Linked DNA regions of Homo sapiens: regions 2 and 3 are each linked to region 1. The links are contacts of gene promoters, found by promoter capture Hi-C in blood cells and fetal thymus (Javierre and others, 2016). All regions are on one chromosome and are shown on one strand. The core of a region is centred on a gene start or on the middle of the fragment in contact, and the rest is flanking DNA. Distances in the headings are between cores, read along the strand shown.

Evidence for each region. The method cuts DNA at HindIII sites, captures the fragments that hold promoters and counts their contacts. A CHiCAGO score of 5 or more calls a contact.
Region 2: a fragment that was not itself captured here is called in contact with the fragment with the promoter of SOCS3 in region 1 in 1 of 17 cell types (monocytes); the score reaches 7.0 in monocytes.
Region 3: a fragment that was not itself captured here is called in contact with the fragment with the promoter of SOCS3 in region 1 in 7 of 17 cell types (activated CD4 T cells, naive B cells, total B cells and 4 more); the score reaches 8.3 in activated CD4 T cells.

The regions. Positions count from the first base shown.
Region 1 is chr17:78,358,087-78,361,326 of GRCh38, reverse strand. It overlaps SOCS3 (suppressor of cytokine signaling 3), which reads left to right and starts at 1,250. Exons shown (of 2, transcript NM_003955.5): 1 at 1,250-1,577; 2 at 2,144-3,240. The coding sequence starts at 2,232. The coding sequence ends at 2,909. SOCS3-DT (SOCS3 divergent transcript) reads right to left here and starts at 879. Exons shown (of 5, transcript NR_110847.1): 1 at 554-879. RefSeq lists silencers at 349-398, 629-828, 889-1,198, 1,209-1,488, 1,899-2,138 and an enhancer at 1,246-1,894. The HindIII fragment of the contact is 6,903 bases long and covers 1-3,240 here.
Region 2 is chr17:78,607,417-78,610,656 of GRCh38, reverse strand. No RefSeq gene overlaps it. Among named protein-coding and RNA genes, the nearest start is that of SCAT1, 23 kb to the left of the region's middle. The HindIII fragment of the contact is 3,651 bases long and covers 1-3,240 here.
Region 3 is chr17:78,112,024-78,115,263 of GRCh38, reverse strand. TMC6 (transmembrane channel like 6) reads left to right here. Exons shown (of 20, transcript NM_001127198.5): 19 at 1,640-1,716; 20 at 2,053-3,240. The coding sequence ends at 2,116. Among named protein-coding and RNA genes, the nearest start is that of TMC6, 15 kb to the left of the region's middle. RefSeq lists an enhancer at 2,614-2,673. The HindIII fragment of the contact is 239 bases long and covers 1,436-1,674 here.

The DNA of each region.
Region 1 (3,240 bases), core at 1-2,500:
CAAACTATCTACGTCAGTGCCAACGTGACCAGCAGCAAACCAATCTTTCACCTCAATCACTTCCTCTCCTCCCCTCTACCCCCTCCCCGCCAGTGATCAAGTCCTCCCCCACCCCAAGAGAGGCAGGGGGTCACATTCCAGGGGGTGTGGGCCATCTGGCAGTAGCCTGAACCCCGGAAAACTGCTTTCCGGAAATTCTCTCCTGCTAGAATTTTATTCCCAGGTCTGACCCCAGCCTGGGGTGTGAATGCCCCCTTCTCGGCCACCTTTCCAGCTCCGGAGACAGCCATTCCCGCAGATCCCTGGCGTGCCTATTCCAAGGCCTGGGCCGCGCAGCACCAAACTGCCCTCCCCTAGGAGACCCCAGGGCGCCCTCTGGCGGACGCGGGCCGTAGGTTGGGGCCATCGTTCCACCTCGAGCTCTCCAGCCCGGCCGAGAGCACCTGGCCCAACCCACACCGGACCAACCAGGTTTGCAGACCCCAGTGCATGAAAGCGTTTTCATAGGGGAGGGGAGGGGGGCTCCACACTCGCGTCAGGGTTGGCAAAGAACCTGGCAGTGGGCCGAGGCTGGGTAGCTGCCACGAAGGGGCGTCCCCTGCAGCCCTGGGTCTCCCCTCTGGAATCTGCCCGCAGGTGACTGTCGCACGTCTCCAACCTCCGGCTCCCGGGTCTGACCCCAGCCCCGCTGCCTGGCTGTGGGGTAGCCCCACTTCCCTTTCGGCTGGCCCGGGCCGCCTGACCCGCAGTTGGGCCCTCGGGGAGGCCCGGGTGGCGGCGAGGGGGTGTCCCCGCGGGGTCCGGGAAAAGGGGAAGGGGAACCGGGAGGCTCTCCAGGTCGGCCTCCTAGAACTGCCCGCTCTCCCGAAGCGGCGCCCCCGCCTCTGCCAGAAATCAGCCTTCTTAGAAGGGAGGGGGGTGGGGGGAAAGTGTGAATGAGAAGTTGGGGGCGGAGCGCGCGGCGGGGAGGGGCCGCTGCCAGGAACGCGCCGCCGGGGCTGGCGCCGCGCCCACCGGCCGCCTCGGCCGCCTCTCGTCGCGCTTTGTCTCCGCGCGCGTCCCTCCCGGTCCCTGCCCCTGCTCGCGGCCCGCCCTCGGCGCCCGCGGCCCCTCCCTCACCCTCCGCGCTCAGCCTTTCTCTGCTGCGAGTAGTGACTAAACATTACAAGAAGGCCGGCCGCGCAGTTCCAGGAATCGGGGGGCGGGGCGCGGCGGCCGCCTATATACCCGCGAGCGCGGCCTCCGCGGCGGCTCCGACTTGGACTCCCTGCTCCGCTGCTGCCGCTTCGGCCCCGCACGCAGCCAGCCGCCAGCCGCCCGCCCGGCCCAGCTCCCGCCGCGGCCCCTTGCCGCGGTCCCTCTCCTGGTCCCCTCCCGGTTGGTCCGGGGGTGCGCAGGGGGCAGGGCGGGCGCCCAGGGGAAGCTCGAGGGACGCGCGCGCGAAGGCTCCTTTGTGGACTTCACGGCCGCCAACATCTGGGCGCAGCGCGGGCCACCGCTGGCCGTCTCGCCGCCGCGTCGCCTTGGGGACCCGAGGGGGCTCAGCCCCAAGGACGGAGACTTCGATTCGGGACCAGGTAGGAAGGAGGAGCGCGGCGTGGGGAGGGGTCTCGCTCAGTCCCGGGAGCTTTTCCCGGTTTCCCCTCCCCTTCCCGGGTCATTCCCGGCAGGGAGGTGACGAGGTAGGGGCAGAGCGGATGGAAGCCGGAGATCCCAGGTTCCCGGAATACTCCGGCTGGGGCCTTCGGGCTTCTCCTGTCCCCTCCCTACCCCCGTGCCTCGGGTTTCTCCCTCCGTCCACACCGCCCGGGGCTACTGGACTGAGCGGCGCCCAGGCAGTCCCGGGGGCCCTTCTCCTGCTCCCCACCCGGCCACACTCCTGGAGACCTAACTTCCGCGCGCGAGTTTCCCACGCTGCGCCCTTGCAGTGCGCGCCTGGGAAGGGGCTGCCCGGGGCCACCCTGCCGGCAGGGGCGGGAGCCGTGCGGGCTCCGTGAGGCGCCTGGATCGGAGCGCGGGCCCAGGAGAGGGCCCCCGGGGCAGTGGGTGCCCCAGTCGCTCGGCGAAGGCAGGGGAGCCGGGGCGGGCCGGGCGCGCTGGAGGGTTCCGGGCACTCAACGCGCTCGCGCCTTCCTCTCCGCAGCCCCCCGGGATGCGGTAGCGGCCGCTGTGCGGAGGCCGCGAAGCAGCTGCAGCCGCCGCCGCGCAGATCCACGCTGGCTCCGTGCGCCATGGTCACCCACAGCAAGTTTCCCGCCGCCGGGATGAGCCGCCCCCTGGACACCAGCCTGCGCCTCAAGACCTTCAGCTCCAAGAGCGAGTACCAGCTGGTGGTGAACGCAGTGCGCAAGCTGCAGGAGAGCGGCTTCTACTGGAGCGCAGTGACCGGCGGCGAGGCGAACCTGCTGCTCAGTGCCGAGCCCGCCGGCACCTTTCTGATCCGCGACAGCTCGGACCAGCGCCACTTCTTCACGCTCAGCGTCAAGACCCAGTCTGGGACCAAGAACCTGCGCATCCAGTGTGAGGGGGGCAGCTTCTCTCTGCAGAGCGATCCCCGGAGCACGCAGCCCGTGCCCCGCTTCGACTGCGTGCTCAAGCTGGTGCACCACTACATGCCGCCCCCTGGAGCCCCCTCCTTCCCCTCGCCACCTACTGAACCCTCCTCCGAGGTGCCCGAGCAGCCGTCTGCCCAGCCACTCCCTGGGAGTCCCCCCAGAAGAGCCTATTACATCTACTCCGGGGGCGAGAAGATCCCCCTGGTGTTGAGCCGGCCCCTCTCCTCCAACGTGGCCACTCTTCAGCATCTCTGTCGGAAGACCGTCAACGGCCACCTGGACTCCTATGAGAAAGTCACCCAGCTGCCGGGGCCCATTCGGGAGTTCCTGGACCAGTACGATGCCCCGCTTTAAGGGGTAAAGGGCGCAAAGGGCATGGGTCGGGAGAGGGGACGCAGGCCCCTCTCCTCCGTGGCACATGGCACAAGCACAAGAAGCCAACCAGGAGAGAGTCCTGTAGCTCTGGGGGGAAAGAGGGCGGACAGGCCCCTCCCTCTGCCCTCTCCCTGCAGAATGTGGCAGGCGGACCTGGAATGTGTTGGAGGGAAGGGGGAGTACCACCTGAGTCTCCAGCTTCTCCGGAGGAGCCAGCTGTCCTGGTGGGACGATAGCAACCACAAGTGGATTCTCCTTCAATTCCTCAGCTTCCCCTCTGCCTCCAAACAGGGGACACTTCGGGAATGCT
Region 2 (3,240 bases), core at 254-2,753, 250 kb before region 1:
AGTAAGGCTCCCATGATGACAGCACAGGTGTCCACGCTGGAAGGCTGTTGCGTGCTGCAGAGTTTGGTGTCTCATGGATTCAACCACAGGATACCGGAGGAGGAGCTTGGAGATAATCCGGCCAACTTATTTCACAGACAAGGACACCGAGGCACAGAGTGATGAGGTCCCTTTCCGGGCACACTGAGCTAGCCTGTAGTAGGCAGGTTTGAGAGCTGAGTTGATGGCCGTGGTCCTGTCCCAGGCTTTCCTGCATGGCCCGGCTGGTGCTGGGATGTGTTGCGTCTTCTCTCCAGCTTGCCACGTTGGTCTCTTCATTGTTAATGTGAAGAAAAGGGCATTTGTCTTAAGAGGAAGAGAAAGGCCATGAATTCCCTTTCCTTTTTTTTTCAGACCTGAGTCTCGCTCTGTGGCCCAGGCTGGGGTGCAATGGTGCGATCTTGGCTCACTGCAGCCTCCACCTCCCAGGTTCAAGGGGTTCCCCTGCCTCAACTTCCCAAGTAGCTGGGACTATAGGTGCCCGCCACCATGCCTGGCTAATTTTTTGTATTTTTAATAGAGATGGGTTTTGCCGTGTTGCTCTTTCCTTTTTTCTTGTGTCTTGGCATCCCTTTTCACAAAGATGCCGAGACGTAGGTTCTGGTCCTTTGCAGGGTCCCCAGCCCACACGCAGGCCCGGATGCTGTTACTGGCATCAACTTCGCCAGGCTCTGGACCTATCTTTGGCTGTCGGCTGCCGAGGACCAGCAGAAGACATGTTCTGGGTACACACAGAGGACTATGCTCAACCGCCAAGGATTCAGAAAATAGGAAATGGAGCTTCTTATGCCACTCTGTGAGAGTTCTGTTGGCAGCTGTATTTGGATAAACAGAAGTTTGAGATTTCGATGGGTTTCTGGTAGTCTGACCATGTCAAAAATTGGCCCACGTTACTAACACAATCTGTATCTGTCAAGATTTAACCAGAGAAACAGAACCAGCAGGAGACATAGGATATATATATGTGGATTTATTGCAGGAAACTGGCTTCTGTGGCTGTAGGAGCTGGCTAGACACATCAGAATTCATGGGCCTGGCCATCAGGAAGAGCAGCCTGGAACTCCTGGGCACGAGCTGAAGCTGCTGGCTGAGGTTTCCCCATAGAAGAAAAAAATTCCATCTGAAGCCAGCAGCTTTGGCCAGTGGTAGAGAGATGCCCCGTTCACAAAGGGCAGGGGGTGGTGTGGCAGGCACCCTTCCCGGGGACACAGTTTGGTGACTGTCCGCATTCCCCCAGGCAAGTGCGTGCAGGGGCATGAGGATGGGGCAGATTCCAAGAAGGCCTTGGCCCCCATCCCCCCTGGCCCTTCTGCCTGGGGTTTCTTTGTGGCTGAACGCTGCCTGGCCACACACAGCATCTGCACTCTCCAATGTTCTTGGCTTGGAAATCTTAGAAGCGTAGTTTTCCTGTGTCCCAGTTCTTTCGACTTTTTTTTTGTTTGCTGGCCTGGTACTTCTCTAACTATCTGGTAAGGACACATTTTTATTTTGTTTTAATTTCCAGTCCATCGTGGGACCCACACTTTTGTAAACCACGATAAAGATGAACTACCAGAAAAATGATGAAGCACTTAGACAACATGGCAAAGTGAAGTGGCTGTCAGCGTTTCTACCCGCTCGCTCTCAATTTCCACACTCAACGAGGCCCAGAACAGTCAGTTCCCGGACTGTCCCTGGAGCACAGGCCAGGCACCCTGGATGATTAACTGAGGGGTTCCATGAGTATTTCCTGAGCACTGTATGCTGAGCGCTGTTGTAGCCCATGGAACTAAACCTAGTACCCAATAGTTACTTTTTCTAAGCCACTCTCTCCTTCCACCCACCACCTTCAAGTAGGCTGCAGTGTCTGTTGTCCCCCTCTTTGTGTCCATGTGCCCTCATTTAGCTCCCACTTATAAGTGAAAATGTGCAGCGTTTGCTTTTCTGTTCCTGAGTTAGTTTGCTAAGGATAATGGCCTCCAGCTCCACCCATGTTTCTGCAAGGAACATGATCTCATTCTTTTTTATGGCTGCATAGTATTCCATAGTGTATATGTAACACATGTTCTTTATCCAGTCTACCACTGATGAGCACTGTGGTTGATTCCATGTCTTTGCTATTGTGAATAGTGCTGCAATGGACATATGCGTGTATGTGTCTTTACGGTAGAACAATGTATATTCCTTTGGATATATACCCAGTAACGGGATTGCTAGGTTGAATGGTAGTTCTGTTTTTAGCTCTTCGAGGAATTGCCATGCGGCTTTCCATAATGACTGAACTCATTTACATTCCCACCAACAGGGTATAAGTGTTCCCCTTTCTCCACAACCTCACCAGCACCTGTTGTTTTTTGACTTTTCAATAACAGCCATTCTGACTGGTGTGAGATGGTACCTCGTTGTGGTTTTGATTTGCGTTTCTCTCTAATGATCAGTGATGTTGAGCTTTTTTTCATATGCTTGTTGGCCACACGTACGTCTTCTTTTGAAAAGTATCTGGAACTTTGCTTTTAATGAGGGATACAGACAATAAATTAACATAATAAATAAGTAAATTAAACAATACTTTAGAGGGCGGTGCATCCTAAGGAAAAACTAAAGCAGAGAAGAGGGATGCCAATGATGAGTTGGTTTCTTTTTTCCTGTTGGATGGGGGTGTTGCCATCAGGGATGAAAACAAATGAAGTAAACCCATCTATTGAAAGGAATTCACAGTTGTCCTTATCAATGAATACTTTTTTTTTTTTTGAGACAGGGTCTTGCTCTGTCCCCTAGGCTAGAGTGCAGTGACATGATCTAGCTCACTGCAAACTCTGCCTCCCAGGTTCAAGTGATTCTCCTGCCTCAGCCTCCCGAGTAGCTGGGATTACAGGTGCCTGCCATGACAACTGACTAATTTTTGTATTTTTAGTGGAGACAGGGTTTCACCATATTGGCCAGGCTGGTCTGGAACTCCTGACCTCAAGTGATCCACCCATCTCGACCTCCCAAAGTGCTGGGATGACAGACATGAGCCACCCCGCCCGGCCACATTTTTATTTTAACAAGATTTTCTCATCAACAAACACACAAAGATGCATGCAAGATGAGAATTTCTGAACCAACCATTGATACACACAGGGAAGACTTCAGGGCAGTTAACATCTGGGGCTAGGGGAAATCTCTCTGCATTTGCAGGGGAGAGCTTGGGCAGGCCCAGGAGGAATTTCTGAAAGGAGC
Region 3 (3,240 bases), core at 306-2,805, 250 kb after region 1:
TGGGCCTCGGCAGCCATGTGACCCTGCTGCTGGCTAGTTGGTGCCAGGATCCAGGGCTCCAGGCAGCTCGTCCCAGCTCGTCCCAAGCACTCATGGGACGGCTCCCACATTGCTTGGGTTGTAAACACTGTAGTACACACTGTCCCATCTCCTGCCTTTCCCGTTTCACCACATAGAGCTGAAAGCCTGGCATCTCGGCTGCGGTGGTTGTCTGGCTGTAGATATTGGAAGTGGGGAATGGCTCCTGCCCTACTGGGTGGCATTTCAGAGCCCCCAGGGGCCAGGTAGGGCCAGGTGGGTCCGGGCGGGGAATGCAGAGTGGTGCTGGGAGAATCCCAGCTCTACCCACCGTTGCTCTGGGATGGGAAGGACCTTTCTCCAGGCGGATGCTGGCTGTGGTGTCTACCCAAGGCCGAGCTCTGACCCGTCTTTGGGGCTGTCGGTCTGAGTTTTCCCCGTGCAGGTCGGCATGGCTCAAGTGCACAGCCCCTCCATACTCATCAGCAACTCGATAGAAGCTACTTAGGTTGTTGCTTAAGGGGCCCATGGTCTCTCCTTGAAGGTATTCTAAGTGGTCCTCCTAGGCTGAGCCAGGTTGCCAGGTGCCCAGAGCCAATCCGTGTGGCTCTTGACAGAACTCCTGTTCTCTGTGTGAAGCTCCGGGCGGGGAATCCCGGTCTGACCCAGGCACTGATGATCAGTGTTTCGGTGCACCAGATCCTTTGCTAAGTGCCCCCTCTGCTTGTCACATTTCATTGTCGAAAGAGCCCTGGGTCAGTCCAGTACTGGCCCCAAAGATGTCCCCGTCCTAAGACTGGATGGAGCCTGTGAATACGTTACGTTGCGTGGCTGGGGAATTACGATTGCAGGTAGAATTAAAGTTGCCAGTCAGCTGACTTTGGATAGGAGATGGCCCTAGATTATCGTGGTGGCCCAGCGTGATCTCAGGGTCCTTAGAGGTGAAAAACAGAGGCCGGAGTGTCAGGGTCAGAGTGGTGCCACGTGAGCAGGACTTGAGCAGCCACTGCTGGCTTTGAAGTGGAGGAAAGGGCTGAGAGCCAGGGGCCTCTAGAAGTTGGAAAAGGCGAGGAAGAGGATTCTCCCCCGAAGCCTCCGGGAGGAATGTAGCCCTGATCATGCTTGACTGGAGCCCAGTGAGACTCATTTTGGACTTCTCACTTCCAGAACTGAAAGTTGAGAAACCGGTGGTGTTTTAAGCCACGAAGTTGATGACAGTTCGTTACGACAGCAGCAGGAAACTAATGTAAACCCTGTGCCTTGTGTTATTATCCCCCTTTACAGATGCTGCCACTGAGGTCACAGAGTTAGTAACCCAAGGCAGAGCCAGTACGTGGCAGGGCTGGTTTTAAATTGAGTCAGGCTGGCTCTGGGCTGCTGATTACATTTCCCTTTTCACTTTGGCCACTAGGAAGCTTAGATCCACACATACGCCCACTTCCTGGCTCTTGGTTTTTCCTTGTCCTTGTTTGGTGGCCCTTTCACCTTTTCTTTTATGTTTTTGCTGCTTGCGATGTTGAATACACCTCGTGAGTTTTCCCTCAAATGCAGTTTGGAACAGGATGGCTCTGGATGGGCTGATGGATGATTTCTCCTCCCCTTTGTGTTCTGGCCTTTCTAGGAGGGTGAGGACAAAATCTTCTTAATCAACAAGCTTCACTCCATCTACGAGAGGAAGGAGAGGGAGGAGAGGAGCAGGTGAGGGTCCGTGGAGGGATTGGGGACACTCTGAGCCTGGAGGGGAGAGGGGCCAGGGCTGGACAGTAGGGCTGCCACTGGGGCTACACCACGACATTGCTGACACTTGACCGCTTTTGACCTACAAAAATCTCCCCCCCGGCGCCCACCTTCACTCTCTCTAGAGCCTTCTCTGGCCTCCGGAGCCTGGCCATTTTGACAGGGACCTAAAATACATCTCAGGAGAAAGGCTGTGGGGCGTCTGGCCTGTCCCTCGCCGGGCCTTGGCTGCGCCCAGCCAGGTTGCAGGGATGTTGATGTTTATGGGGTCCCCTCAGTGATGTCTCTTTCTGGCAGGGTTGGGACAACCGAGGAGGCTGCGGCACCCCCTGCCCTGCTCACAGATGAACAGGATGCCTAGGGGGACGGCGATGGGCCTCACGGGCCCGCCCAGCACCCTGAGACCACACTGTTGCCTCCCAGTGACCCTGCTGGGACACCAGGACAAGGAAGACAGTTTCGCCTCTCGAAAGCCGCAGCTGCGCCTAGGCTGGAGCTGGAAGGGTGGGTGAATCCGGCTTGGGCATCCCCAATGAACTCTGCCCTGCCTGGGACTCTATTTATTCTGATTAAAGGGGTTTTGCAAATGGGCTTGTCCCTTGGGGCTCTGTGTCTGTGACCACACCCGGGGCCTGCTTCCCGCTGCCCTGGGGCCACCTCCAGGCGCAGGTCTGGGTCCTGGGAACCTCAGCTGGAGTGGGGGCGCCCTCTGCTGGCCAAGCCCCAGATGGCAGGGGCTGGACCGCGCCAGGGCTTGATTCGCTTGCTGCCTTTGACCAGCCTGAACTCGCGCCCAGGAGGGGCTTACACCTGCACAAGTGAGCCGAGCAGGCACGGATTGTGACCAGAGCGATGCGTCAACCATTGGGTGATGCTGTAGCATCTACTGGAGCAGGAGACAAATTTAGAGAGGGACTTGGAGGGGAGACATATCAGTTGCAAATGAGTTGTGGGGACAGTTGCCTCCCAGGCATAGGTAACCAGCACCTGTGCTTGGAGGCGAACAGGGCTTGGTGAGGTGGGGCTGGCCCCCTGCTTCTGGCTGCCAGCAGCTGGCTGGGGGGTGGTGATCCTGGGTCTGACTGGGCTGAGTTTGAGGAGCCCGTGGGATACCGAAAACCGTAGGCTGTGGGGGGTGGGCACAGGGATTCGGGGACCAGCCCGTCATGACCCCGTGCTCCAGGTCTGCAGGGACCAGCCCATGACAGCCCAGGGCTCCAGGTCTGCGGGGACCAGCCCATCACAGCCCAGGGCTCCAGGCCTGCGGGGACCAGCCCGTCAGCCTCAGTTCTCCAGGCCTGCGGGGACCAGCCCGTCATGACCCCAGTGCTCCAGGTCTGTGGGGACCAGCCCGTCAGCCTGTGCTCCAGGCCTGCAGGAACCAGCCCGTCAGCCTCAGTGCTCCAGGCCTGCGGGGACCAGCCCGTCAGCCTGTGCTCCAGGCCTGCGGGGACCAGCCCGTCATGACCCCAGTGCTCCAGGTCT